Linked DNA regions of Homo sapiens: regions 2, 3, 4, 5 and 6 are each linked to region 1. The links are contacts of gene promoters, found by promoter capture Hi-C in blood cells and fetal thymus (Javierre and others, 2016). All regions are on one chromosome and are shown on one strand. The core of a region is centred on a gene start or on the middle of the fragment in contact, and the rest is flanking DNA. Distances in the headings are between cores, read along the strand shown. Region 1 holds the start of ZNF500 (zinc finger protein 500). Region 2 overlaps CDIP1 (cell death inducing p53 target 1). Region 3 overlaps SEC14L5 (SEC14 like lipid binding 5). Region 4 has its middle 11 kb from the start of UBALD1. Region 5 overlaps PPL (periplakin). Region 6 overlaps MGRN1 (mahogunin ring finger 1).

Region 1 (4,426 bases), core at 1-2,500:
GGATCTCTTCCTGTTCCAGGTCCTGCTCCAAGGTTGGCAGGGGCTGGAGGCCAGGGACAGTGGCCATTGCTTCCGGTGGGCCTTGTTCCTTTTCAGGCCTTAGAGTTGAACCTGTCTCTCTCTATACCTCTGGCCAGACACAGGAAGAGAGTTTTTTTCAGGGCCCTGTGGAGAGACGATAAAACCATCTGAAGGGCAGCCCTGGGGCTGGATAAGCCCTTTGGCCTGGGAAGCCCCTGCCCTGGTTCCAAGGCCAGCTCACCCCACCATGGAAAAGGAAAAGGAAGTGGATGAATGTCATCTTTGTTATTAACCCCCTGTTAATTCCCGGGTAATTTACTGAAGGGCTCTGGGCTTTGCTTCCTCACTGGGCAAACAGAGATGATAACAGGACCTACACACACAGGTTGCTGACAGAACTAAAAGGGATGGCTGGGGGCAGTAGCTGACGCCTGTAATCCCCGCACTTTGGGAGGCAGAGGAGGGCAGATCACGTGAGTTCAGGAGTTGACCACCTGGTCAACGTGGTGGAACCCTGTCTCTACAAAAAATACAAAAATTAGCCCGACATGGTGGTAGCACATCTGTAATCCCAGCAACTCGGGAGGCTGAGACAGGAGAATCGCTTGAACCCGGGAGATGGAGGTTGCAGTGAACTGAGATAGCGCCACTGCACTCCAGCCTGGGCGACAGAGAGAGACTCAAACAAAAACAATCTAAAAGGGATGTTTGCGGTCAGAGCTCGAGAATCGTTATTTTCCATGATTAGAGTGGGTCCTATATGGAAGGGGTTCCTTTGGAAATCTGATGAAAAGTAGGGCCTTTCTGCAGACTCTGCCTCAACTTGATCCCCGGTGTCCAGGTCTGGCGAACCCTGAAGCCCCTACGCGGCCCCGTCAGGCACCCCCGCGTGGGTGGTCACGACAGCCCCCCAATTCCAGGGTCCTGGGAGAGCTGGGACCCCCAGGCCGGGCTGCTTTCCCGTCTCATCCCTCAGGTGGAGGGTGAGCGGTACCCGAGGCCGCGGCACAGACCCGGGTGCTGGCGCGGGCCGCGAAATCGAAGCTTCGGCCGGGACCCGCGTCCCCGCGCCCCCCGCACTCACTGGAAGCGCTGCCGGCCGTGGGCAGTTCGGGGCAGGACCGGAGCGGCGGGTCTCGGCGGGAGTAGGACTGCGGGCCTCAGGCTTGGCAGCCAGGGACGCCAGAGCCGGGGCCGAAGACCCTAAACCAGGGGTGCAAACCAGGCCGTGCGGGTGGGCCCGCAGGCGGCATTGTGGGTAACGTAGCCGTGGCACCATTGGCTAAGCCGGCCGTTGGGGGCGTGGCAACACGGCCGAGTGGGCGGGTCCGCGACGTGCACTGTGGTTAATGTGGTCCTCAAAGGCACGCATTGTGGGTAACGTAGTCCAGCACCTCGGTGACCGCGCGAGCGTGCGGCGACTCTGCAGCCTCTGGGCTACTTTCCCAGTCACTGTTCCACACCCGCTCCGCTCTCCTCTGGCCGCCTCCTCCATCTTTAAAGCCAGCAAAGTCGTCCGGGCACGGTGGCTCACACCTGTAATCCTAGCACTTTGGGAGGCCGACGCGGGCGGATCACCTGAGGTCGGGAGTTCGAGACCAGCCTGACTAACGTGGAGAAACCTGGGCGTGGTGGTTCATGCCTGTAATCCTAGCTACTCAGGAGGCTAAGGCGCAGGTTGCAGTGAGCCGACATCCTGCCATTGTCCTCCAGCCTGGGCAACAAGAGCGAAACTCCATCTCAAAAAATAAATAAATAAATAATAAATAAATAAAATAAATAAAGGCAGAAGTTGTTCAAGATAAAACTGGAAGAGATGCCAAGTGCTTGCGCCCACCCTCCCCCAAGAGGGCCCCCAACAACGTCCAACCCCAAATATCCCTTGTCCTGCCTGCTTCTTTCTGACAACATAATAATGGGCATCAATCTTTGTTGTTGTTGTTAGAGATGAAGTCCCACCATGGTGCCTAGGCTGGTCTCAAACTCCTGGGCCCAAGCAATCTTCCCGCCTCAGCTTCCCAAAGTGTCAGGATTACAGGTGTGCCCAGCCAGGTATCAATTCTTGTATGTATGTATTTATTTATTTAGAGACAGGGTCTCACTCTGTCGCCCAGGCTAGAGTGCAGTGGCTCGACCTTGGCTCACAGCAACCTCCGCCGCCCGGTTTTAAGCAATTCTCCTACCTAACCTCCCGAATAGTTGGGATTACAGGCACGAACCACCAGGTCCGGCTAATTTTTGTATTTTTAGTAGAGATGGGGTTTCCCCATGTTGCCCAGGCTGGTCTCCAACGGCCTCAAGCAATCCACCCACGTCAGCCTCCCAAAGTGCTGAGATTACAGGAGTAAGCCACCGCTCCCGGTCGCATCAATTCTTGAGCATCAAGCAAGCAAAACACATTTGTACTTCGTTTCTTCCTCATTTAGTAATAGAGGTACTATAACTAGACCTACCGGTTCAACAAAACAAAACAAAACCCTGAAGCTCTGAGAGTTTTAAGTATTGAACCCCCCAGAGAAGGTCAAACAGGAAGTACAGAAATGGGATTGGAACCCAAATCTTTGATTCCAGAACTTCAGCTCCTAACTACCAGGTTAACGTAGTTTGCCCCTAATCCTAACTTGGGCATCCTAAGGCCCGTCTCCTATGCTGGATTCTCGCTGCTTTTCCTCTTTGGTTGAACATGATCCGGAGTTTCCCTCTGCCTGGGGTGCCCAGGAAAGAGTCCCAGCACCGAGTTCGGGTGAGCAGCAACGCAGCATACACAGCAGGCGTACACTCAACGTACGCCCCGCCCCGCACAAGCTCCGCCCCGCATGCGCGCCCCGCCTCGCATCCCGGATCTACCCCCGGAATCTCGCGCGTCTTTCCCAAAGCATCGGCTAGGACTCAGCCCGCCGGAAACAAATTTGGGGACGCCGGATTCAGGAAGCTGGCAGGACTACATTTCCCAGAGCGCCCCGCGCCCTCCCCGGAGGCAGATTCCTGGGCGCTCTAGAGGGGGTGGGTTGGCGGCCTGGAGGGTCTCCTCAAGTGGCGGCACTGCCAGGGGCTCGGAGGAAGGGGCTGCAGTCTCCCGGTGGCAGCGTCCTTGTCGTCGAGACTGCGGGCGGTTCCCTTGCGCGCCCTGAACCTCAGTTTCCATATCTGTTAATGGGGGACATTAACCCTCAAGGTTGTAACTCATTCAAGACCATTCATCCAGGCATAATAAATGCATAAACGCTGCACGTTGAGTCCTCCCAACTGCCCCCTTAACTAGGCGCTCGGGTGATGGAGTGGTGGCAGGTGCCTGCTTTCATGGAGCTTGCCATGAGAGGCATACAGTGGACAAAATTACCATGAGAGGCATACAGTGGACAAAATTGCACGAAGAATTGTTTAATCACTTCTTTGGCAAATGTTAGCAAGCGGCGTAAAAGAGGGAACCTGATACCTTCAGGGTGGAAGTGACAGTTGAGCAGCCTAGGGTTAACCTGGGGAACCGGTGGGGAGGATTCCAGACAGCAGGAGTGAAAAGTGCAAAGGTCCTGGGGCCGGAGAGAACACGGTGCGTTTGAGGAACAGAATGGAGACCAGAGATTGGGAGATGTGGCTGGAGGGATGGGCAAGGCCTGACCATACTTGGAGACTCTGGTGAGGATTAAGGATTTTATCCTTGGAGTCAATAGAGTTTGGGGTTTTAAGTAGGATAGCATCGTGATCAGATAAGAAGCTTTGTGGAGTACAGATCTCAGAAAGACTGGAGAGGAGCAGTGAGACTAGCTGGAAGCTCCTGGAGTGGTCCAGAGTTGGGGTAACTAGTGATGGTGGTAGTCACTGACAAGGATCTGGCCAAGATTCCTGGAGCACATTCAACAGTGCTTGGTGGTTGATTAGCTTGGGGTGGAGGAGGGAGACAAGGATAACTCCTTTGTACAATGGGGATGGTAACATCACCTGCAGTAGGCACCATTATGGTAAAGAGACAGAACAGAACGTCAGACACATATAGGCTTAATATGTCCTAATTCTGTTAGTAATAAAGACTACCTCTGTGTTCAGGGCAGTGTTGTTTGTAATGGCAAAACCGAAAACAGTCTAAATGTTAGTCAACAGGAGAATGATGGATAAATCTCACGGAGGCTATGCCAAACAAAAAAAGGCAAGTGGCAATATGATACAATTTTCATAAATTTTGAAAATGCAAAACAATTCTACATATGATTTAGAGACATGTATGCGGTTCAAAGAAATGTTTGGGACTTGGATGAACACCAAATTCAGGATGGTGATGGGGCAAACGTTGAAGAGGGATGTGATGGGGGGAAGGTTCAGGGGGCAAAAACTGCAAGTTTTAATGTGCTTTTTATTTATTTTTAATTTATATATTTATATTTTTATATTTATTTATATTTTTTTATTT
Region 2 (4,426 bases), core at 1,292-3,791, 250 kb before region 1:
GCAAGGGCTGGTTGGGCGTGTTGGAGTCCCTGCCCTACAGCAGATGCCCACCTGTACTGAGGACAGCCAGCGCAGGCCAGACAGCAGCCAGGAGTTCCCCATGCTCCCCTCAGATCCCTTCCCCACTCACCCGGAGGCATGTAGGTGCCATCTGCACTCATGTGTGGTGGGATGAAGCCAGGCTGGGGCATTGGGTGACCCGGCGGCTCATAGGGTGGGGGGCCAATGTCCGCAGGGGGCAGTGGCATGCCTGGAGGGGGCTGCATCACAGCTGGGGAGGAACGGCCTGGACAGAGAGAGGCAGAAAGAGGAGACTGAGCTGGAGCCTCTGCACGATGAGCTCGACCAGAGGCCACTGTTTTGGGACACAGATGGGGCCCAGGGGTAACCCTGGAGTGGGCATCACCACTTAGAGAGTCCCAACCATGCCATGGCGGCAGGGGGCTGCAATATGGAGCCTCAGGAACAGTGACCCCCTACCTGGGGTGGGCGGGGCTCCACTTTTCTCTTCCAGAAGTGGGGCTGTGGGGCCCCCAGGATAAGGAGGGGGAGGCTCGCTGGACATCTTCGCTGCTTCTCCTGGACATGGAGGGAAAACCCAGACATGAACTAAGCTCCCAGCCAGGTTCCTTCTCCTTCAGCCCTGTGGGGTGGCCAAGATGCTGCACAAGGCGTGTGACCATCCTCAGAAGGGTCTGCCTCCAGGCACTGGGGATCCCCCACCTTTCCCAGGGCCACCTAGCCCAGAGCCACCATCCTCACCTCTCAGTAGTCACCTGCTCTTCCCTGTTTGGAAGCTGAAGGGCAAGGACAGAACCCAGGAAGCAGGGCCCAGTGAGGTAAAGTCCCCCAAGGAGCCTAACTCAGCACTTGCCCCACACGAGAGCAGTTTGGCACCGAGCTCTCCCCTCCCCAAACGTTTAGCGGGCACTAAGGCAGTCGGAGGAGACACTGGACCGATCTCTGCCACAGGCTGCACTGGGAATGGGGGTTCTGGGGGATTTCTTACCTCAAATCCGTGCTACTCAGAGAAGGGAGGCAGGTGAGGCTCCTTCAGCTGCTGGCCTGGATGGACAGGGAACAGGCAGGGCTCCGGGAGCTGTTTCAGGGGAAGGAAAGGCAGGGCCCTCAGCAGGGAGCAAGGGCTGCCAAGCCAGGGCTGGGCCCAGGGGCCTGGGCATACCACACAGTTCCTCCCCTTCCACATCCGGCTTCTCCCTAGCTGTCACTCTGCCATCCACACACCCGACCACCCCTCCATTCCTCGGTCCCGTCGCAGGTCTGCTTCCTCCCTCCCCCAGGACTGCTGGCACCCAAGGGCCACGGCTGGGCCCTCTGCCTCCCCTCCCACCAGGCCTGAGCTCCCATGCATGAGGACTGGACTGCCAGGCAAGCTGTGCTCTGGCCTGTGCCCTTCTGGTTTGTTTGTTGAGGTGGGGGTCAGGGGGAAGAAGAGTCAAGTGAAATCTTTTCCCTCATTTCTGTCACCAAACTCTCTGAGCACAGCTCAGAAAGGTGGGAAGCTTTTGCTCTTACTTAGCATCATAAAGGACTTGGGAAGTGGGGTTCAGTTACCTTAGCTAAAAGTAATAAAATGAGACAAAAATCAGTTTCAGTGGAACAAAAAATACAGGGAAAGGAGTGTTTCCCAGACAGCCCAGCACCTGCAGGGGATGGAGGGCACATAAGTTTGAATATAAAGTTTAACAAATCAGGGGCAGGGCCAGAGGAACCAAGTCCAAGCTCTTGGGTTCAACTATAAAGTACCATGGAAGTTTGAAAACTGAAAGAGATCAAAAAGCTGTTAGAAGAAAATGCAGGCATCAATCTTTATGACCTTCGATTAGGCAGTGGTTTCTTAGATATGACACCAAAAGCAAAGCAACAAAAGAAAGAAAACTTAAAGTGGATGTCATCAGAATGAAAAACTCTTGTGCTTCAAAGGATACCATCACATTTTATAATTCATAGATCTGATAAAGGACTTGTATTAAGAAATACAAAGAACTCAACTCAATAACAGAAAGACAACCCAATTTTTAAAAGGATTTGAACAAAGACTTCTCAAAAGACAAATGGCCAAAAGCACATGAAAAACTACTGAGCGTCTTTTCATAAGGGAAATGAAAACCAAAACCACAAGGAGACCATTTCCTATCTACTAGGATGGCTAAAATTTAAAAAGACAGTAATAGGCATTATGTAGAAAAACTGGAACCCTCATACACTGCTGGTAGGGGACAGCCCCTGCAAACCTTTTGAAGAACTGCCAGCCCCTGTTCCCCTTTTGAGGAACAGTCTGGCAGTTCCTCAAAAGGTTAAACCTAGAGTTACCAGATGACCCAGCAATTCCACCCCTAGTTATCTGCCCAAAAGAAATGAAAACCTGTCTACACAGAAATTTGTACACAAATGTTCACAGCAGCATGAATCATAATAGCCAAAAAGTGGAAACAACCCAAATGTCCATCAACAAAGTGGATAAACAAAACCGTAGGCTGCCCAGACAATGGAAGACGATTCGGCTATAAAAAGGAAGGAAGCACTGACACCCTACAGCATGAACTCTGAAAACATGCTTGGTGAGAGAAGCCAGACACAAAAGGCCACATACTGTATGATTTCACTTATATGAAATGTCCCCAATAGGCAAACCCATAGAAACGGAAAGTACATTAGTAGCTGTTTAGGTCTGGGGGAGAGGGGAAATGGGGAACATGGAATCTCCTTCTGGGGTAACGAAGATGCTCTGAAACCGATTGTAGCAACAGTTGAACGATTCTGTGAATAACTAAAAACCACTGAATTGTACACTTTAAATGGGTGAATTGAATGGTACGTAAATTATGTCAATAAAACTTATTTTTAAAAAAAATGAGGGAAAAGAAAATTAGTCCTACTGCAGCCCATCTCCACATGTCCCTGCTGGTCTGTATGCACAGGCACCTGTACCTTTTGGTTTTGTTTTGTAGAGACGGGGGTCTCACTATGTTGCCCAGGCTGGTCTCGAACTCCTGGCCTCAAACAATCCTCCTGCCTCGGCCTCCTAAAGTGTTGGGATTACAGGCAGGAGCAACTGCGCCCAGCCCATACCATATAAAAATATAGTTGCTGTCCTGACAGTTTTAAATCCTTTTTTTTTTTTTTTTTTTTTTTTTGTGAGACAGAGTCTTGCTCTGTTGCCCAGGCTGGAGTGCAGTGGCGCGATCCTGGCTCACTGCAACGTCTGCCTCCCGGGTCCCAGCGATTCTCCTGCCTCAGCCTCCCAAGTAGCTGAGACTACAGGCACACGGCACCACGACTGGCTGATTTTTGTATTTTTTTAGTAGAGAAGGGATTTCACCACATTGACCAGGCTGGTAAATCCTTTTAATGCTGTGTCACACATATTCCATCTTACAAGACTCCGTGACCGTTGATATTAATATTCCACAAAATGGGCATACTTGACCAAACCCTATTAAGACATTTAGGCAAGGCCCTACTTGCTGCTTTCATGAAATACAAGAGAACACCTCTGTCCACCGCTCTTTCCCTTTTGTTAGATTATCTCCTCAGGCTAAGCTTGTCAGAGTGAGATGACTAGGTCAAAGGACATGAGCATTTTATGCCTTTTTGAAAGGATGCCAATTTATAGTGCCAGTTATTAATTTTCATATTAAAATGTCACTTATTTTTATATGCATTTCTTTGGCAATCAGGAGACAGAACATCTTTCCAAGTGTTCAGAAATTACACCTCTTCTGAGTTGCCTTATTATCCACAGAAGACATGGAGGCCTAGAAAAGGATGGGGCGGGGCATAAGTCTAGGACCCCAGCATGACTCTCCCACCCTCCTGCCTGCACAGTGAATTCCAATGGCACAGGGTTAAGAAAAGGGAGCAGTGGCCAGGTGCAGGGACTTATTCCTGTAATCTAATCTCAGCACTTTGGGAGACTGAAGCTGGCAGATGAACTGAGGCCAGGGGTTCGAAACCAGCATGGTCAACATGGCAAGACTCTTGTCTCTACAAAAGAAAAATTTTTAAATTAGGCATGATAATGTATGCCTGTAGTCCCAGCTACTGGGGAGGCTGAGGCAGGAGGATCACCTGAGCCCAAGACTCAGAGGATACAGTGAGCCATGATCAGGCCACTGCACTCTAGCCTGGGCAACAGTGCGAGACCCTGTCTCAAAAAACAAAAAAAAAAAAAACAGAACAGGGAGTAGCAGCAGTGCCTCTTGGGGCTGGTCCTGGGGTCCCTTGCCCAGGCTGCTCCTAGCCTGCCAGGTGCCCTCCTGCAGGGGAGAAGAGGGCAGCCTTTCATGGGGCTTTACCTGCGTCTGGAAAACTGCTCCAATACGTTGAGTTGGAATAAGTGCCAGCCCCTGCTACAAACTCCCAGACTCCCAGAAAATGCTCTCTGGCGCCTCTGGGTGGCACC
Region 3 (4,426 bases), core at 1,090-3,589, 220 kb after region 1:
AGTCGGGGGTTGGTGTCCTGGGTCCGGGCTGGGTGGGCGGTGGCGCAAGGGACCTGGGACTCAGGGCAGGGGGTGACTGGGGCAGGCCCGCCGGACTCGCTCTCCATTCCTGTGTGCTCCACGCCGCCCACCCACCTCCGCCTCCCCGCCCCTTCCCTTGCAGATCGCAGGTGTTGAGCACGTGGTCTTCGTGCAGACAAACATCTTGAACTGGAAGGAGAGGACGCTCCTCATCGAAGCGCACAATGAGACCTTCGCCAACCGCGTGGTGGTGAACGAGCACTGCAGCTACACGGTGAGCCCAGGCCACCCTCAGCGCCCACGCCCGGCACCCACCTGCGCCCGGCACCCACCTGTGCCCAGAGCTGTGTCCCCACATTCCTTGAGCCTCTGCCAAGCCCTCCCTCCTGGGGCATTGTCAAGAAAGATGCAGGATGCTTGGTTGCCTTTGCATTCCGATGAACAACCCATAATTTTTTTAGTATGTCTCAAATATTGCTTGGGATATACTTATACTCAAATGTTATTTGTTGTTTATTTGAAATTCAAACGTGACTGGACATCCTGTGTTTTATCTGTTAAATCTGACAACCCTATCCTCTCCCTCCTCTTTCCCCTCCCTCCTTTCCTTCCTTCTTTCATTAAATTATGCCTCAGTTTCCTCACGTGTGAAATGGGCTTAATAATCATGCCTACTACACAGGTAGTATGTGGCGCCTTTAGACCAGTGCCTGGCACATATTAAGTTCTACGTAAATGTTACCTTTGACTATAATTAATAATAATCATAATTATTCTCTAGTATATACTGATTGAGCACCTACTATGTGCCAGGCACCCTGCCAAGTGATGAGCACCCAGCAGTGGACCAGGCTGCCTGACCACTGCCCTCACGGAGGGTCCATTCCAGTGGAACAAAACGGAATCAGTGTGTGTGCATTTGTCACAGCTAAGGCTGGATCCAGCAGGGAGATGTGTGGGAGTCAGAGAAGGTGGTAGGGGCACTGAAGCTGAGTGCTGAAGGATGAGAGGAGCTGCTCATGGAGGACTGGGAACAGCATTTTGGGGGTGGGAACAGCATGAGTGAGGTCTGCCAAGGTGAGGCCATGGGGCCTAGATCTTGATGACTTTAGAGGCTGGAATGAGGCACCTGCAGGCATTCACTGATGGGACCCAGCTCTGCCACTTTCTTGCTGAGTGACGTTGGGCCACACTGTCTGTATCTGTAAAATCGGGACATTGGCAGATCCTGCCTTGCTGGATCGTTTTCACGATGATAACTCCAGGATAGCAATGGTAGACCATTGTACGTGTTTTTTTTTTTGTTTGTTTGTTTGTTTTGTTTTTTTTTTTGTTTGTTTTTTTGAGAGACAGTCTCGCTCTGTGGCCCAGGCTGGAGTGCACTGGCATAATCTTGGCTCACTGCAACCTCCGCCTCCTTGTTAAAAGGATTCTCTTGCCTCAGATTCTCACGCCTCAGATTCCCGTGTAGGTGGGATTACAGGCATGTGCCACCACATCCGGCTGATTTTTGTATTTTTAGTAGAGATAGGGTTTCTCCATGTTGGCCAGGCTATTCTCAAACTCCTGGCTTCAAGTGATCCACCCACCTTGGCCTTCCAAAGTGCTGGGATTACAGACATGAGCCACCGTACCCGGCTCCATTGCCTTTTCTTTCTACGCCTCCAACTCCTCTTGGGTCCTCCAGGAGCTTGGGCTCAGGGTGTTCAGATCTTCTGGGGAGGGGCAAGCAACAGTTGTTGAAACCCCTCTTAGTGTGTGTGGTGTTTCTCAGAATGAGTTCTATCAATAGCTGAGTCAGCAGCACCTGGGGCTGCTTGCGAAATGCAGATTCCTGGGCCCCAACCTGGAAGTGTCTAGGGGCAGGCCCAGGAATCTGCATATTTTAACAGACTCCTTGGTAATGTTTCTGCCCACAGACGTTTGAGGAGGACTAGGTCTGGATCCATAAAGGAGCTCTGCCAATGAAGTTTTCTTTTTGCAAACATACAGATCTATAAATGTTTATTGATATATAAGGATATGTAATATATCTTTATATAGATAACATATAATATACAACTATTTAAAAAATCTATATCTAAATTTTATGTGTAATATTGATATATAATTTATTTATAGATTATATAAATGATACACTGAACAATTGTATTTATTTTATTATTTTTTTTTTGGAGATGGAGTCTTGCTCTATTACCCAGGCTGGAGTGCAGTGGCATGATCTTGGCTCACTGCAACCTCCGCCTCCCAGGTTCAAGCGATTCTCCTGCCTCAGCCTCCCGAGTAGCTGGGATTACAGGCACCCACCACCATCTCTGGCTAATTTTTGGATTTTTAGTAGAGATGGAGTTTCACCATGTTGGCCAGGCTCGTCTCCAAGTCCTGACCTCAAATGATTCGCCCACCTTGGGCTCCCAAAGTGCTCGGATTACAGGCGTGAGCCGCCATGCCCGACCTAAACATAAGTATTTCTAACTAATTTTCTATGTATGTGTATAATATTGAAAGGGCAGGGCTGCAGATTTGAGACCCACATTCTCCCGGCTTCTCATGAGAAGGCTTTTTGTTCCCTGACAGTTTGAACTTTGCATCGTTCTCTGGGTGGGGGCCCCTTGGTCCTGCTACCCCATCCAGGGTTGCCAGGCTTGATCTGCTTTCCACTGCAGGCTCTGCCTGGGCCCAGGTCAGTGGGAGAGCCCTAGGGGAGGGCAGGGTGCCCCCGACATTGAGTCCCTGGCATGACCCCTGCCTGGCTTTCAGGTCCACCCTGAGAATGAAGACTGGACTTGCTTCGAGCAGTCTGCCTCACTGGACATTCGGTCTTTCTTTGGCTTTGAAAATGCCTTGGAGAAGATCGCCATGAAGCAGTACACCGCCAACGTCAAGAGGGTAAGCGGTGGGTTGCGTTAGTTACTGGAGGAAGGTGCACACACCTGCTCTGCCATCAACAGCTGCATGACCCCTGGCAAGACCCTTACCCTTCCTGGGCTCAGTGTTATCTGTTAAATGGGTACTCTAGTAATGACCAAATCACCACGAGATAATGGATGGAAAGTAACTGGTCTGTAACAGGGGCACCCTAATCCTCGCTCTGGCACCATGAGATGTCCAGGCTTATGTGGTGAATTATCTGGACAACAGATAATTCTGTGGTGCTTTTTTTTTTTTTTTTTTTTTTTTTAGATAAAATGATCATTGCTTGCTCTAAAGACCTCAGATCCATCCCTGAGTAAAAACCCGTTCTTGTGATGAAACAGATGAAATTAACTTTAATAACAAATTTTTAAACAATGTGTTATCAATATAAAACTTAATTCTCCGAGGTTGGAGGCCCAGTTGAGCCCAGGAATTTCAGAGCAGTCTAGGCAACATAGTGGACTCCATCTCTAAAAAAATAAAATAAAATAAAATTAGGTGGGTGTGGTGGTGTGTGCCTATAGTCCCAGCTGCTCAGGAGGCTGAGGCAGGAGGATCTCTTGATCCTGGGAGGTTGGGGCTGCAGTGCGCTGAGATGACACTACTGCACTCCAGCCTGGGCAACACAGCAAGACACTGTCTCAAAAAAAATAAACAAAAACAAAAACAACCCCCAACCCAAAAAACTGATTACTGAGCTATTTTGCATTCTTTGTTTCGTACCAAGCCTTGGAAATTAGGTGGGTGTTGGACACTCGCAGCTTCTCTCCATCCCGACCAGACACATCCAGCCACTCAATAGCCACGTGTCGGGGCTGGGACCTGAGCCGGCTGGGGGTGACTCCCTGTGGTGATCCTGTGACCCCCCTCCATCCTGCCCCGTGCTCATGTGTCTTGGGTCTCTCTGGCTTCCAGGGGAAGGAGGTGATTGAGCATTACCTGAATGAGCTCATCTCCCAGGGTACCTCGCACATTCCGCGCTGGACGCCTGCCCCAGTCCGTGAGGAGGATGCCCGCAACCAGGCTGGACCGAGGGACCCCAGCTCCCTGGAGGCCCACGGGCCCCGTAGCACCCTGGGGCCCGCTCTGGAGGCGGTCAGTATGGACGGTAGGTGGTACAGCCCAGGCCAGTCAGCCCTAGGAGGCTGCTGCAGGTCCTCTTGCTCCATGGGGGGCCCTGGGGCATGTTGGGGAGAATTGCCTGCCGTCCCCCCTGGGAATGGGTCTGGGTCTTGGAACGACACCGCCTCCTGCCTCCACTGAGTGCTTTTCTCTCTCTCCATCCTGGTCCAAGAGCAGAACTCATTTGTTTCTTTTCTTTTCTCTTTTCTTTTCTTTTCTTTTTTGAGACGGAGTCCCCCTATGTCTCCCAGGCTGGAGCGCAGTAGCACGATCTCGGCTCCCTGCAACCTCCGCCCCCCGGGTTCAAGTGATTCTTCTGCCTCAGCCTCCCAAGTAGCTGGGATTACAGGCATCTGCCACCACACCC
Region 4 (4,426 bases), core at 1,147-3,646, 160 kb before region 1:
AAACAATGTCCCTGTGCAGGGGTGAAGCCTGACCCGCCGCCATAGTCCCCAGTGTCCACTGGATCCCTGGGGTGGTGCTGGGGAGTTGAGGGGCTGGTGGGGAGCTGCCAGGAGGGAGCTGGAGGGGGGCTCCCCTTTCACTTCCCTTTGGCTGCCTAGGGGGGGACTTTGGGCTCCAGTCTCTCCCCCGGCCCCGGTGGCCATCGGAGTCTGGGGACACTGCATGCCTACTCTGTTCCTATTGTCCTCAAGGTCCCTGGCCCAGCTCACTGCGACCCACGCCCCCCACCCTGGCTGCTCTTTTCTTTCTCCAAAGACTGTGTCCAAATGAGGCCAAGCCCCTCTTGACCTGGGTGACACCTATCCAAGCTGCCTTGGGGGTGCTGTCTGGTGTAGCCCTGGCCCCCACCCCGACCCCTATACCACAGATGAGTATTTTGGGCAATTTCTGCCCAGAACAAAATCTTCCACATTTCTGACCGTGGATGAGGGGACTGGCGGAGTGCCTTCTGTGTGGGGAGGTGGGACTTGCTGGTCCCTCCTCCAGCCACCACCCGAGGCTCAGCCCGTGGGCAGGAGAGAAGGCACCCAGGGTCACAGAGAGAGAGGCCCCAACTTGCCGGCCCCCACCAGGAGGCTGAACCTGCTGGGTCCTGTGACTTCCACCCCCTCCCACTGCAGTGAGGCGTGGCCCCCGCTCTGCTGAGCTGGGAGGGGAGGGCTCCTGGGGGACACCAGGCCAGGCCATCTTGACACGTGACACCCAGGGCATCCCCCGGTCCCGCACAGCTGGGCCCCCCTCTCCCTAGTGCCCCTCACTGCCTGTCCCCACTGGGCCCCTCCAGAGCACCATCCCAGCCCCTTTCTTGGGTGTACAAGCCAGGGCTGGAGTGAGTTTCTGCAGCCCAGCAGGTGAGGAGCGAGGCCTGGGGGCATCTCCTCTGCATCCTCACGGGCCACCTGGGGGCTTGGGAAGGTGGGGACTCCGGCCCCACAGCAGGCCCGTGAGGAGCAGTCCCGGAAGAAGGCAGTGCCCAAGGGAGGGTGTGGGGAGGCTGGCCTTGGCCTGGGTCCCAGGTGGGAGCTGCAGGCAGAATCTCCCCTAACCCACACTAGTGCAGAGGGGTGGCGCCTGCAGGCCTTGGAAGCTGGGAGGGGGAGCTGCGCTACTCCCTAGGCAGCAGCTGTGGCTTGGTTGGGCATAGCGGCTCATACCTGTAAGCCCAGCACTTTTGGAGGGAGAGGCTAGAGGACTGCTTGAATCCAGGATTTCCAGACCAGCCAGGGCAACAGTGAGACCCGTCTCTACAAAAAAATAAATAGCTATGCGTGGTAGTGCATGTGTGTGGTCCCAGCTAGTTGGGAGGCTGAGGCGGGAGGATCAATTTAGCCCAGGACATCAAGGCTGCAGTGAGCTATGATTGCACCACTGCACTCCAGCCTGGGTGACAGAAAACAACAACATGGCCGGGCGTGGTGGCTCACGCCTGTAATCCCAGCACTTTGGGAGGCCGAGGTGGGCAAATCACCTGAGGTCAGGAGTTCGAGACCAGCCTGGCCAGTATGATGAAACCCCGTCTCTATTAAAAATACAAAACATTAGCTGGGCATGGTGGCACGCGCCTGTAATCCCAGCTACTCAGGAGGCTGAGGCAGGAGAATCGCCTGAACCCAGAAAGCAGAGGTTGCAGTGAGCCAAGATCGCGCCATTGCACTCCAGCCCCGGGGACAAGAGTGAAACTCCGTCTCAAACAAAAAAAAAGAAGACAGATGAATTGGTCATGTGGGGAGAGGAGGGAGGGGCGCGGGGCTCTGTGAATGGGGTGGGCAGGAAGGGAAAGGAAGGTCCCACCTTGAGGTGCTGCTGGAATAGAGGAGATGCTGTGTGGTGACCACCTCACACTGCCAGGCCCATCCCAGCCCACCCCTGCAAGTGAAAGGTCATTCAACGTGTTCTCCCTTTCAAGGACCATGAACTCATTAACACTAAGGGATAAACAACAGACGCCAGCACGTGTGTTGGAAAAGGGCACTGTGAGTACCCGAAAGTGGACTGCCCAGGGTGGAAGTTCAGGCACCAGACAGAAGGGCGTGGCATGCAGCGACTTCTTAGGGACGCAGGAACCAACACATGCTCCCTCCAACCCCCCACACCCACTGTCCTGGCTGGCTTGACTTCTGACTCTCCATGGATGTGCGAGCTCTAAGCAGAGACCTTCCACACACACAACCGGCAGACAAGGGTTTCTCTCCTCTGCCTCCCTCACCTTGCTCGTGGCTCCACTGGGATGAGGACAAAATGACTCCATCAAGATCGTGGCTTTGCAATTCCCCAGGAGATGAGAGATGACCCCGGGAAGCAGAGCAGAATTTCACCAGCAGGCTCCTCGGTGCCTAGTGCTGTGCCACTGACAAGTCCTTGGTCATCCTGGAAGGGGCCCCCAATTTCTGCCCTCCCTAAAAGGACTCGGTAGCCCCTCACCTCCAAAACAGCCGTGTTCTTTTAAGGCTCTGTTGAAATACATCCGTTGTCCAAATATGAGCAGTGCTCAAAAACCCAGAGAACTTTCCAAACGCAGGAATTAGAAGTAGCCTTGTGTCAAAAGAACTCCATTCCGGCCAACCTAGGAGGTCTCCCGTATTCGGGGAAGAAGACCGGAGTCAAAGGACTCATCTGTCCTGTGCCAGGGACTGCTGTGAAAGCCCCTCAGAGACCTCCAGGGCCACAGCAGCCCCACCCAGCCCCGCAGTCAGCCTCGGAGACAGCCTGGTTCCCTGTGGCTGACCGCAGGGTGTTCTCAGAGAACCCTGGCTGGACCGCTGCAAAGACCCTGGGGACACTCAGCAGCCCCTGGTGAGTCCCTCTCGACCGAGAGCATCTTGCAGAACAAGCCGTCTGTTTTCACGGCCGTTTCCAGGGGGAGCCCTGCCCACCGCCGTTCATCCTACCCCACTGGACAGGGCATTTACTTCTGAAGCTCCCCGTGGTGAAAAGACAGACCCCCTCCAGGGATTCCAGCCGATTCCCACGCAGGAGTTGGACTCGTGCATGGCTGTGGTGGCGTAGAGCAGGCTGGCAGGGGCAGGCCACGCCGTGTCCCCAGTGCCATGGTCAGTTTCAGCCAGTTATGGCCTTAAGGGAATTTGCACCAAATCTTCCAGTTTCCAAGATAAGTCGGAAGTGAGGCTTTTCCCATAAACTCTCCTGATTTTTTTTCTTGAGACGGAGTTTCGCTCGTTGCCCAGGCTGGAGTGTAGTGGTGCCATCTCGGTTCACCGCAACCTCTGCCTCCTGGGTTCAAGCGATTCTCCTGCCTCAGCCTCCTGAGTAGCTGGGATTACAGGCATGCACCACCACACCCAGCTAAGTTTTTGTATTTAGCAGAGATGGAGTTTCACCATGTTGGTAGGGCTGCTCTTGATCCCCTGACCTCAGGTGATCCACCCACCTCGGCCTCCCAAAGGGCTGGGATTACAGGTGTGAGCCACCGTGTCTGGCCTCCGGTTGGTTTTGCTTTCGATTTTCCAGGCTTAGAGAAGTCATGGGAGGCTCCAGGTTCTTTGTGTCACATTCAAGGTCTGGGGCATGTGGTGATTTCGTAGGCCCACCTCTGGCTCCCCTAGAGTTAGTCCTAGCCCACGTGCACAGCCCCCTTCTTTTTGTAAGATGCCCCTGCGACCAAGGGCTCCAAGCACACCTGGTAGGGCCTCTGCATCTGCCGGAAAACACCTGCACTGCCAGCCCCAGCCCCAGCCCTGCCCTCCCCAAGGCTCCCAGACTGCTCCCACTGGGAGTGGTTCCCACCTGGCCTGGGGCACTTATTAAAAATCAGATCTGGGGCTGGGTGAGGTGGTTCACGCCTGTAATCCCAGCACTTTTGGAGGCCAAGCCAAGAGGATCACTTGAGGCCAGGAGTTCAAGGGCAGCCTGGGCAACATAGCAAGACCTCATCTCTACAAGAAAATTTAAAAAAAATTAGCCAGGTGTGGTGGCGTGCACCTGTAGTCCCAGCTACTTGGGAGCCTGAGGTGGGAGGATCACCTGAGCCCAGGATTTCAAGGCTGTAGTGAGCTATGATTGCATCACTGCACTCTAGTCTGGGGAACAGAGCAAGACCCTATCTCTAAAACACAAATCAGATTCTTTGACCCTCCTCCAGAACAACTGCCTCAAGGGAGAGGCCGGGAACGTGGGTGTTCAGCAAGCACCCAGGGGACGCTTGTGCTCTGGAAGTCCGGGGATCGAGTCTGCAGGCTCCCACTCACGATGTGGGGGGCATGACTAGATGGCACGTAAAAATATATGTGAAAGGAGCTATTTTCATTTTTTTCTGTTTTTTTTTTTTTTTCTTTTGAGGTGGAGTCTTGCTTTGTCTCCAGGCTGGAGTGCAGTGGAGCGATCTCTGCTCACTGCAACGTCCACCTC
Region 5 (4,426 bases), core at 960-3,459, 160 kb after region 1:
CCTTCTTAGGAGTAGCAGAATTTTAGATTTACTGGTTCTTCCTAAGCCTGTTTTATTTTATTTATTTAGAGACAGGGTCTTGCTCTGTTGCCCAGGCTGGAGTGCAGTGGCACAATCACAGCTCACTGCAGCCTTGAATTCCTGGACTCAGGGATCCTCCCCTCTCAGCCTCCTGAGTAGCTAAGACTAGAGGCATGCACCACCATGCCCAGCTAATTTTTTTTTTTTTTTGGTAGAAATAGGGTCTCACTATGTTGCCCAGGCTCGTCTTCAACTCCTGGCCTCAAGTCATCCTCCCGCCTTGGCCTCCCAAAGCGCTAGGACAAGTGCGAACCACTGCACCTGGTTCCCTAAGCTTTCCAATACATAGACACATCTGCATTCAGGAAGAGTAAGTGGAATTGCTCTGTGTATGTTTCTAAAAATGTATATATGCAAGCATCATCTTTGCATCCTTCATCAACTTGCTTTGCTTGCTCACTGTCATGCCTTTTCGGGTCGTGGATACACACATCCCCGTCACCTTCTGTCAACTGCACTCTCTTTATCCTCTCATCTCCAACTGATCCCCGGGTTCGGCGTGGAGGACCTCTCCTGAAGAAGCCTGTGTGGCTGGGTCAGGGCCCTCCTTTATCTCACTATCACTCCGCATTGCTGCCAGCTGTGTACTCAGCCAACTCTCTGCTCACCGTCCTGCACGCAGGAGGTGACTGGATGGGGACAGGGCAGGGGGCAGCCTGCTCAGGCCTCGCACTCCTTTCCACTAGCTGGAACCCCTGCCCCATTCATCCCCACCTCCGGGCTCTGCTGGTCCTGGGGTGTGAAGCGCAGGGCAATGTATGCTCTCTTGAAATGCTGAGGGAAGGGGAGAATCTTAGCAGTCCCCCATGGCTTACTCTCATTCATTCATTCATTCAGCACGCGTGTAGCACCAGTGTCTGGGGGAAGGCAGCCACACAGCCACATGTGGCTACCCCGGAGTCACATAGCTGCTGAGATAAGAGCTACCAAGGAGAAGGGGAGTCCATAGAATAGGTGGATCTACCCCAGCAGAGAGGTTGGGGAAGGCTTCCCTGAGGAACAGAAGGTAAACCTGGAAGTGGAAGAGAAGCAGTGAAAAGGGGTGGGAGGGGCATTCTGGGCAACAGGAATGGCAGAGGGAAAGGCCTTGTGGCCGGGCACAGCGTGGAAACAAGACGGTGACAGGCACATGTTGATGTGCAGGGCACCAGCTCCCAGGGCCTAAGAGCAAAGAGAGGTCTGGGGCAGGGGTTAAGCAGCTGGAGGTATGGTCAGATTTATGTCGTAAGGAGCTCCCTGGCTGCCATGGGGAGAAGGGACTGGAGCGCTGGAGTGGAAGAAGGAACAGTGAAGAGGGACTGGAGGCCTGCTGGGCTGCTGGCTCTGCAGGCAGGGAGAAGTGGGGATCCATTTAAAGGGAAAGGGCCTGCGTGCAGTGGCTCATGGCTGTAATCTCAGTGCTTTGGGAGGCTAAGGCAAGAGGCTCACTTGAGCCCAGGAGTTCAGGACCAGAGTGGGCAATATAGTGAGACCCCATCTCTACAAATATTAAAAATTAGCGGGGCACGGTGGTGTGCACACCTGTAGTCCCAGCTTCTTGGGAGGCTGAGGCATGAGGATTGCTTGAGCCCAGCAGTTCAAGGCTACAGTGAGCTATGATCGCACCACTGCACTCCAATCTGGGTGATACAGTGACAGCCTGTCTCTAAAGAATAAAGAAAGAACACTTAAAAAAAATAGGTTGGGGTAGGGAAGGGCAGGGCTGGGACCTGAAGAGAGCTTTGTCCCACCCGGAGGCAGAAAGGGGCACCAGGTGGCCTCCCGGGCTCCAGAGGCTGCAGCACAGCAACCCATCAGAAGCCGGGAGAACAAAGACCAGAGGCCGTTTCCCCATTCGCTCCCAAGACAGGCCGGGGCAGGCAGGCTGGGAGGATGCAAGGTGGTGCCGGTAACACCGGCACAGACCTGCCGGGAGCAGAGAGCAGCTGCACGCTGGGAAGCCAGGGTTCTCTTCCCCAGACGAGGAGCTTTGGAAGCTCTCTAAAGCAGCTTCTCCCCCAGGTCCCCTACTTCCAGGGCCTCCCCCAACCACACCCTTAGGGTATTGCTTAAAGGGTGTGGACGGAGCTGAGTCTCTCCCCCAAAATACCCTTTCCCAACATGATCCGCCCGACAGTGCCTGAAATGCTACCATTAGCAGCTGTTCCTCCAGGTAAGCTCAGCTCTGTCCTGAATCGAATTTATCCAGTCTCATTCCTTCTTCCAAGAGAACTGGGCAAGGGATGGAGGGGCAAAGCTAGAGAGAAGAGAGGTAGAGGGGGTTGCTGGGGGTAGAGGCAGTGAGCACAAACACCAATGACTCTACCATTTGGCCTGGAGCAGTCCCCAGGCACAGTTGCTGCCAGATCCAGGTACGAGTGGGGAGGCCTCATTTGCTTCCCCAGGCCCCCCTGGACTTCCAGCATCAGCCATTTGTGAGCTGTGAGCTCAAGGTGAATGTGAGCCCTCTGTGAAACAGGACACTTCCACCTGCATGGCAGGCCCGCTGTCAGAATGAGATGTAACATCCATGGCCTTGCTGGGCTCACAGTATGTGCCTGAGAAATGGCGGGGCGGCTCTCTCTAAGCTGTTACCCACATGGGTCCCCTCCCATATCGATCAGGCGTTCCTACCAACACTGATCGATGGGTGCATGTGCGTGTCTGCTTGAGTCAGCTCCCTGGTCAGCTCTGGGCTTGGCTCAGTCATGAATCTTTTTTTTTTTTTTTTGAGACGGAGTCTCGCTCTGTCTCCCAGGCTGGAGTGCAGTGGTGTGATCTCGGCTCACTGCAATCTCTGCCTCCCAGGTTCAAGTGATTCTCCTGCCTCAGCCTCCCCAGTATCTGGCTGGGATTACAGGTTTCCGCCACCACACCCAGCTAATTTTTAATATTTATTTTTGTAGAGATGGGATTTCACCATGTTGGCCAGGCTGGTCTTGAACTCCTGACCTCAAGTGATCCGTCCGCCTTACCCTCTCAGAGTGCTGGGATTACAGGCGTGAGCTACCGCGCCCAGCCCGTCATGACTCTTAATAGCAGTGTGTGCTTCCTAGTATTGGCTGCTATGATTTGCCGGGCACTCGCTCTGAACCAGGTCATGGGCTGGACCCATCATGTGCATCCCCTCATTTGATCTACCCAGCAGCCTCACCAACTGGGGGTTGCTGTTGTCACCCCACCTCATAGATGAAGAAACTGAGGCTCGGAGACATTAAGTGACTTGCCCAAGATCAAACAGCTTAAGAGACCCAGAGCTGCGGCCTGAACTCATGCCCAGCTAGCATCAAACACTGTGTTCTTGCTTTTTTTTTTTTCTTTTTGAGACAGAGTCTCACTCTTTTACCCAGGCTGGAGTGCAGTAGCACAATCTCAGCTCACTGCAACCTCTGCCTCCCAGGTTCAAGGGATTCTCCTGCTTCAGCCTCCTGAGTAGCTGGGACTACAGGCACCCACCCCCATGCCCAGCTAATAAAACACTGTGTTCTTAACCACTAAGAGGCTCAGGGTACCCCAGGTGCCTCCCAGTAGAGCATGCTTCCCTTTTGCCAGCTCTCCCCTCAAAGCCTGGGGTCCTGCCTCCCATGCAGGAGCGCTCCATCAGGGCGGCCCCAGTGTTGCAAGACCCGTCTAGGCAAGGCCAGGCTGCTGGGTGTTTACTGGGACCCAGGTCTGGGTGGAGGGGCAAGATTAATCCCATTCAACAAATTCAGAAGCGCTGGGGCTCAGGGATGCTATGTTTCTTTTCAAGCAGAGGCAGAATTGAGCCTGACTGCAGAGCTGGGTCTTGGCCACTCCATCCCACCCCGTGACAGGTCAGATGCCTCCTCTGTGAAGTCCTCCCTCACCTCCCAGCATCTGTGCTCTGACTGTGACAACTCTCACTTGAGGCCTGTCACAAAGTATGTGAGTGGCCAGGGTGGAGACCTCATCTGTCCGGCTCTATGCTCCATTGCTCCTGCCTGGCCCCATCAGTCCGACGCTCATGTAACCATACATGTACTGAAGCTTAACTCCATCTTATCTCTGTGATGTGACTGCCAGCGACTCAAGTGCAGGGAGGTTGTCCACGTCTCCTCCACGACCACGTGCTAAAACCCAGCAACAGTGCCTATGGAATTGTGCAGTGCACAGCCTGTCCACCATGATATCAAGTTTAACCCTGGGTACACCACAGCTAGCTTGCCCGCATTTGCTTAATAACTGTAATCGTCACAGATGCTATTACCTGCGGCCGCTTATCATTCACAACCTTTCCCCTGCATTATTTCATTTAATCCTGAGCCAACATCGCCAGGCAGGCACCGTGCTTATTCCCATCCCACAGGTGAGAAAACAGGCTCAGAGAAGCCAAGCAGCTCCTCTG
Region 6 (4,426 bases), core at 685-3,184, 140 kb before region 1:
TCTTTGTGGTGGAAAGGAGAGAAGGAAGAGGAGAGAGAACTTGGGCATCATGGGGACATCTAGATTGGGTCCTCAGATCCTGGCGTCTCATCTGATCTGATGTCTCAGTCTCCTGGGTGTCTCCGGACACCCACAGGCCAGATTTCTCTGAGTGTGGGCCAGGTCCACAAGTGGGGGAGGACTGCTAGACATGCCAGGGCCTGCCTGGGACCCCTTGGGGCCTGGGAACCTGCATTTTCAACCCATTCCCCATGTGAGTTTTACGTCCACTCAGGTTTGAAAAACTGCTCTGCCCAGGTTTTGTAAGGTGTGACTAGGTGAGGGCCTGGGGCCACTGGGATGAAGTGAGGGGAACCAGCACAGTTTGGGGGCACTCTGAAGGGGATGGACTCAGAGCTAGGCAGAACGCACTGTTGCCTGCCTGCTGGGGAGAGCACAGCTGTATCCCAGGCCCAGCAGCGGGTCAGCCTGGCCTTTGGGTGGTTCCACCCTGGGGTTTCCCTAGAGGTTCCGAGGGCTGATGGCCCTACATCAGATGGAGCAGTTTGCTGTTGTCCTCTTTCATCTCTGATATTCTTCCAGCCTGCCTCTGGCTGAGTGACCTTGGTCGAGGTTGCTTAACCCCCTGGGTCCCAGTTTCCTCATCTGTAAAACGGGCTGATGCTTATACAGCCCTCAGAACCACACCTGGCTCAGAAGTCCCCAAATGGTAGCTGCTACAATTGCTCATAAAGGAAGATAAGTGACTAGCTAATGACCATAATCATAGTAAGCAGTGGCATGACACAGATATCAAAAAGTTGAGTGGCACTTCCTGTCACCTGGGACCTGAGCTCACTTGATGTCCGTTCTTCACTTGGGCTGAACAGAATAACATACATGTCATTTACAGCCCGCTTCGGGATCCCACTGTGGCTGAAATGTCATTGCTAATCACTCGTGGCCCTCCCTCCCACTGAGCATCCATCGCAGAACACTCGCGTCAGCCACTATTGGTTGGCACTGGCACCCAGGTGCAACCCATCAGCTAGCTGCCTGGGTCATGTTGCCAGTGCCAGCAGTGTTCTGCGCCCATCCAGTCCACAGGTCCTCTCCAGCTGTGCTTTTTCCCTTTCTCTTCTCCATCCTTCCCTGGGGCCTTGCAGATACTTGTTCTTCTCTTTGTTCATCTCTTCTGGTCCTTGCCTTTGTGCCGCACTGGTTTCCTAGACTCCCCGCCTCTCCTGTCTCCTTAATGAGAACTCCGTCAGGTCAAGGGTGGGAGGCAGGCCGGGCCTCAGCAGCATTTTGGTGTGTTTCCCCAAGGGCAGACCGGGGACCGTGGAGACATTTGAGATGATTTTAGGGGTTGCCCCCATGGACCATTCAATCACCCGATGAGAAAGCTTTCTTTTCACATCTCTGTCAATTTTGTTGATTATGTCAAGGAGAAAGAGTCACTGGGTGGTAATATATGCATTTTTAACACCTAACACTGTCCATTTTTCTTAAGGGAACTTTCAGCATGTTCTGCAGCAGCGCTCAGCTTGAATTTAATATTTGCTTTGTTTTCACTATATCTGTTTTACTCTTCATAGCTTTATTGAGATGTAGTTCATGTACCACACAACTCATCCATTGTAAACATGATTTGATGATTTTTAGTTAAATTATAGAATTGTGCAGTCGTCTGGCCAGGCGCGGTGGCTCACGCCTATAATCCCATCACTTTGGGAGGCCAAGGCGGGCGGATCACAAGGTCAGGAGATGGAGACCATCCTGGCTAACACGGGGAAACCCCGTCTCTACTAAAAATACAAAAAAATTTAGCCGGGCGTGATGGCAGGCGTCTATAGTCCCAGCTACGCGGGAGGCTGAGGCAGGCTGAATTGCTTGAAGCTGAGAGGTGGAGGCTGCAGTGAGCCGAGATTGCGCCACTGCACTCCAGCCTGGGTGACAGAGCGAGACTCCGTCTCAAAAAAAAAGGCTGGGCGCGGTGGTTCACGCCTGTAATCCCAGCACTTTGGGAGGCTGAGGCAGGTGGATCACAAGGTCAGGAGATCAAGACCATCCTGGCTAACACCGTGAAACCCCATCTCTACCAAAAATACAAAAAATTAGCTGGGTGTGGTGGCGGGCACCTGTAGTCCCAGCTACTCAGGAAGCTGAGGCAGGAGAATGGTGTGAACCCAGGAGGCGGAGGTTGCAGTGAGCCGAGACTGCGCCACTGCACTCCAGCCTAGGTGTCAGAGTGAGACTCCGTCTCAAAAAAAAAAAAAAAAAAGAATTGTGGGTGGGTGCGGTGGCTCACGCCTGTAATCCCAGCACTTTGGGAGGCCGAGGCAGGCGGATCACGAGGTCAGGAGATCGAGACCATCCTGGCTAACACGGTGAAACCCCATGTCTACTAAAAATACAAAAAATTAGCCAGGTGTGGTGGCAGGCGCTTGTAGTCCCAGCCACTCGGGAGGCTGAGGCAGGAGAATGGCATGAACCCGGGAGGTGAAGCTTGCAGTGAGCCGAGATCACGCCATTGCACTCCAGCTGGGCGATAGAGTGTGACTCTGTCTCCAAAAAAAAAAAAAAAAAAGGAGGGGACATTGAAGCAACAACAACAAAAAAAAGAATTGTGCAGTCATCACCACAATTGCAGACATTTCCCTTGTAAAAGTTTCCTTCCATCTGTTTGCAGAGTCCCTACCCCAACCCCCACCCTCAGCCCATCAGCGATCTGCTTTCTTTTTTCTTTGAGATGGAGTGTTGCTCTGTCGCCCAGGTTGCAATGCAGTGGCATGATCTCGGCTCAGTGCAACGTCCGCCTCCTGGGTTCAAGCAATTCTCCTGTTTCAGCCTCCTGAGTAGCTTGGATTACAGGTGCGCACCACCACGCCCGGCTAATTTTTAAATTTTTGGTACAGATGAGGTTTCACCATATTGGCCAGTCTGGTCTCGAGCTCCTGACCTCAGGTGATCTGCCTGCCTTGGCCTCCCAAAGTGCTAGGATTACAGGTGTGAGCCACTATGCCCAGCCTTTTCTGTTTTTTTTTGAGACAGTCTCGCTCTGTTGCCCTGGAGTGCAGTGGTGCAATCTTGGCTTACTGCAACCTCTGCCTCCTGGTTTCAAGTGATTCTCCTGCCTCAGCCTCCCAAGTAGCTGGGATTATAGGCACTGGCCACTATGCCAGGCTAATTTTTGTATTTTTAGTAGACACGGGGTTTCACTATGTTGGGAAGGCTGGTTTCGAACTCCCGACCTCAGGTGATCTGCCCACCTCAGCCTCCAAAGTGCTGGGATTACAGGGGTGAGCCACTGCACCTGGCCTGCTTTCTGTTCGTATGTGTGTGTGTGTGTGTGTGTGTGTGTGTGTGTGTGTGTGTGAAAAGTGTCTATTTGAGTCTTTTGTCCAATTTTCAAAAACTGGATTGTTTATCTTACGGAGTTGTAACAAAGAGTTCTTTATGTGTTCTGGATAGGATTCTCCTGTCAGCCATGTGATTTGCAAATATTTTCTCCCAGTCTGGCTTGTCTTTTAATTTTCTTAATGGTGTTTCTTTTGAAGAGCAAAAGTTTTGAATTTTGACGAAGTCTCATTTACTGCTTTTTAAGTGGATACTGCTTTTGGAGTTATGTTTAAGAAATCTTGGGCCCAGGCATGGTGGCTCACGCCTGTAATCCCAGCACTTTGGGAGGCCAAGGTGGGCGGATCATGAGGTAAAGAGATTGAGACCATCCTGGCCAACATGGTGAAACCCCATCTCTACTAAAAATACAAAAATTAGCTGGGCGTGGTGGCACACACCTGTAGTCCCAGCTGCTCAGGAGGCTGAGGCAGGAGAATTGTTTGAACCCGGGAGGCGGGGGTTGCAGTGAGCCTAGATCGCGCCACTGCACTCCAGCCTGGTGAAAGAGCGAGACACCGTCTCAAAAAAAAAAAAAAAATCATACAGGCGGCTGGGTGTGGTGGTTCATGCCTGTCATCTCAGCATTTTGGGAGGCTGAGGTGGGCGGATCACCTGAGGTCAGGAGTTCGAGACCAGCCTGGCCAACAAGGTGAAACCTCGTCTCTACTAAAAATACAAAAATGAGCTGGACGCAATGGCGCACGCCCGTAATCCCAGCTACTCAGGAGGCTGAGTCAGGAGAATTGCTTGAACCTGGGAGGTGGAGTTGGGTTGCAGTGAGCCAAGATCATGCCACTGCACTGCAGCCTGGGCAAACAGTGAGACACCATCTCAAAAAAAAAAAAAAAAAAAAAGCGCAGGTGCAGTGGCTCGCGCCTGTAATCCTAGCACTTTGGGAGACTGAGATGGGTGGATTGCCTGAGCTCAGGAGTTTGAGACCAGCCTGGGCAACATGGTGAAACTCCATGTCTCCTAAAATACAAAAAATTAGTTGGGTGTGGCAGCATGTGCCTGTAGTCCCAGCTAATTGGGAGGCCGAGGCAGA

Evidence for each region. Contacts are between HindIII fragments. The CHiCAGO score rates a contact against its expected background, and 5 or more counts as called.
Region 2: a contact is called between a fragment that was not itself captured here and the fragment with the promoter of ZNF500 in region 1, in 2 of 17 cell types (erythroblasts and M2 macrophages). The highest score is 5.9, in erythroblasts.
Region 3: a contact is called between a fragment that was not itself captured here and the fragment with the promoter of ZNF500 in region 1, in 1 of 17 cell types (megakaryocytes). The highest score is 5.5, in megakaryocytes.
Region 4: a fragment that was not itself captured here is called in contact with the fragment with the promoter of ZNF500 in region 1 in 1 of 17 cell types (neutrophils); the score reaches 5.9 in neutrophils.
Region 5: a contact is called between a fragment that was not itself captured here and the fragment with the promoter of ZNF500 in region 1, in 6 of 17 cell types (erythroblasts, endothelial precursors, M0 macrophages and 3 more). The highest score is 6.8, in erythroblasts.
Region 6: a contact is called between a fragment that was not itself captured here and the fragment with the promoter of ZNF500 in region 1, in 3 of 17 cell types (fetal thymus, erythroblasts and monocytes). The highest score is 7.9, in fetal thymus.

The regions. Positions count from the first base shown.
Region 1 is chr16:4,765,912-4,770,337 of GRCh38, forward strand. It overlaps ZNF500 (zinc finger protein 500), which reads right to left and starts at 1,251. Exons shown (of 6, transcript NM_021646.4): 1 at 1,106-1,251; 2 at 1-165. The coding sequence starts at 67. RefSeq lists a silencer at 998-1,297 and an enhancer at 2,490-2,569. The HindIII fragment of the contact is 2,671 bases long and covers 1,064-3,734 here.
Region 2 is chr16:4,513,566-4,517,991 of GRCh38, forward strand. CDIP1 (cell death inducing p53 target 1) reads right to left here. Exons shown (of 6, transcript NM_013399.3): 2 at 1,010-1,099; 3 at 481-579; 4 at 131-286. The coding sequence starts at 565. Among named protein-coding and RNA genes, the nearest start is that of CDIP1, 23 kb to the right of the region's middle. RefSeq lists enhancers at 1-179, 180-706, 707-1,234. The HindIII fragment of the contact is 2,041 bases long and covers 1,522-3,562 here.
Region 3 is chr16:4,987,986-4,992,411 of GRCh38, forward strand. It overlaps SEC14L5 (SEC14 like lipid binding 5), which reads left to right. Exons shown (of 16, transcript NM_014692.2): 4 at 164-295; 5 at 2,782-2,910; 6 at 3,853-4,045. Among named protein-coding and RNA genes, the nearest start is that of SEC14L5, 32 kb to the left of the region's middle. The HindIII fragment of the contact is 7,545 bases long and covers 1-4,426 here.
Region 4 is chr16:4,601,756-4,606,181 of GRCh38, forward strand. No RefSeq gene overlaps it. Among named protein-coding and RNA genes, the nearest start is that of UBALD1, 11 kb to the right of the region's middle. The HindIII fragment of the contact is 8,608 bases long and covers 1-4,426 here.
Region 5 is chr16:4,929,637-4,934,062 of GRCh38, forward strand. The region is part of intron 1 of PPL (periplakin); the gene reads right to left. Among named protein-coding and RNA genes, the nearest start is that of PPL, 5.3 kb to the right of the region's middle. The HindIII fragment of the contact is 3,713 bases long and covers 354-4,066 here.
Region 6 is chr16:4,625,835-4,630,260 of GRCh38, forward strand. The region is part of intron 1 of MGRN1 (mahogunin ring finger 1); the gene reads left to right. Among named protein-coding and RNA genes, the nearest start is that of MGRN1, 3.2 kb to the left of the region's middle. RefSeq lists an enhancer at 312-840. The HindIII fragment of the contact is 1,102 bases long and covers 1,384-2,485 here.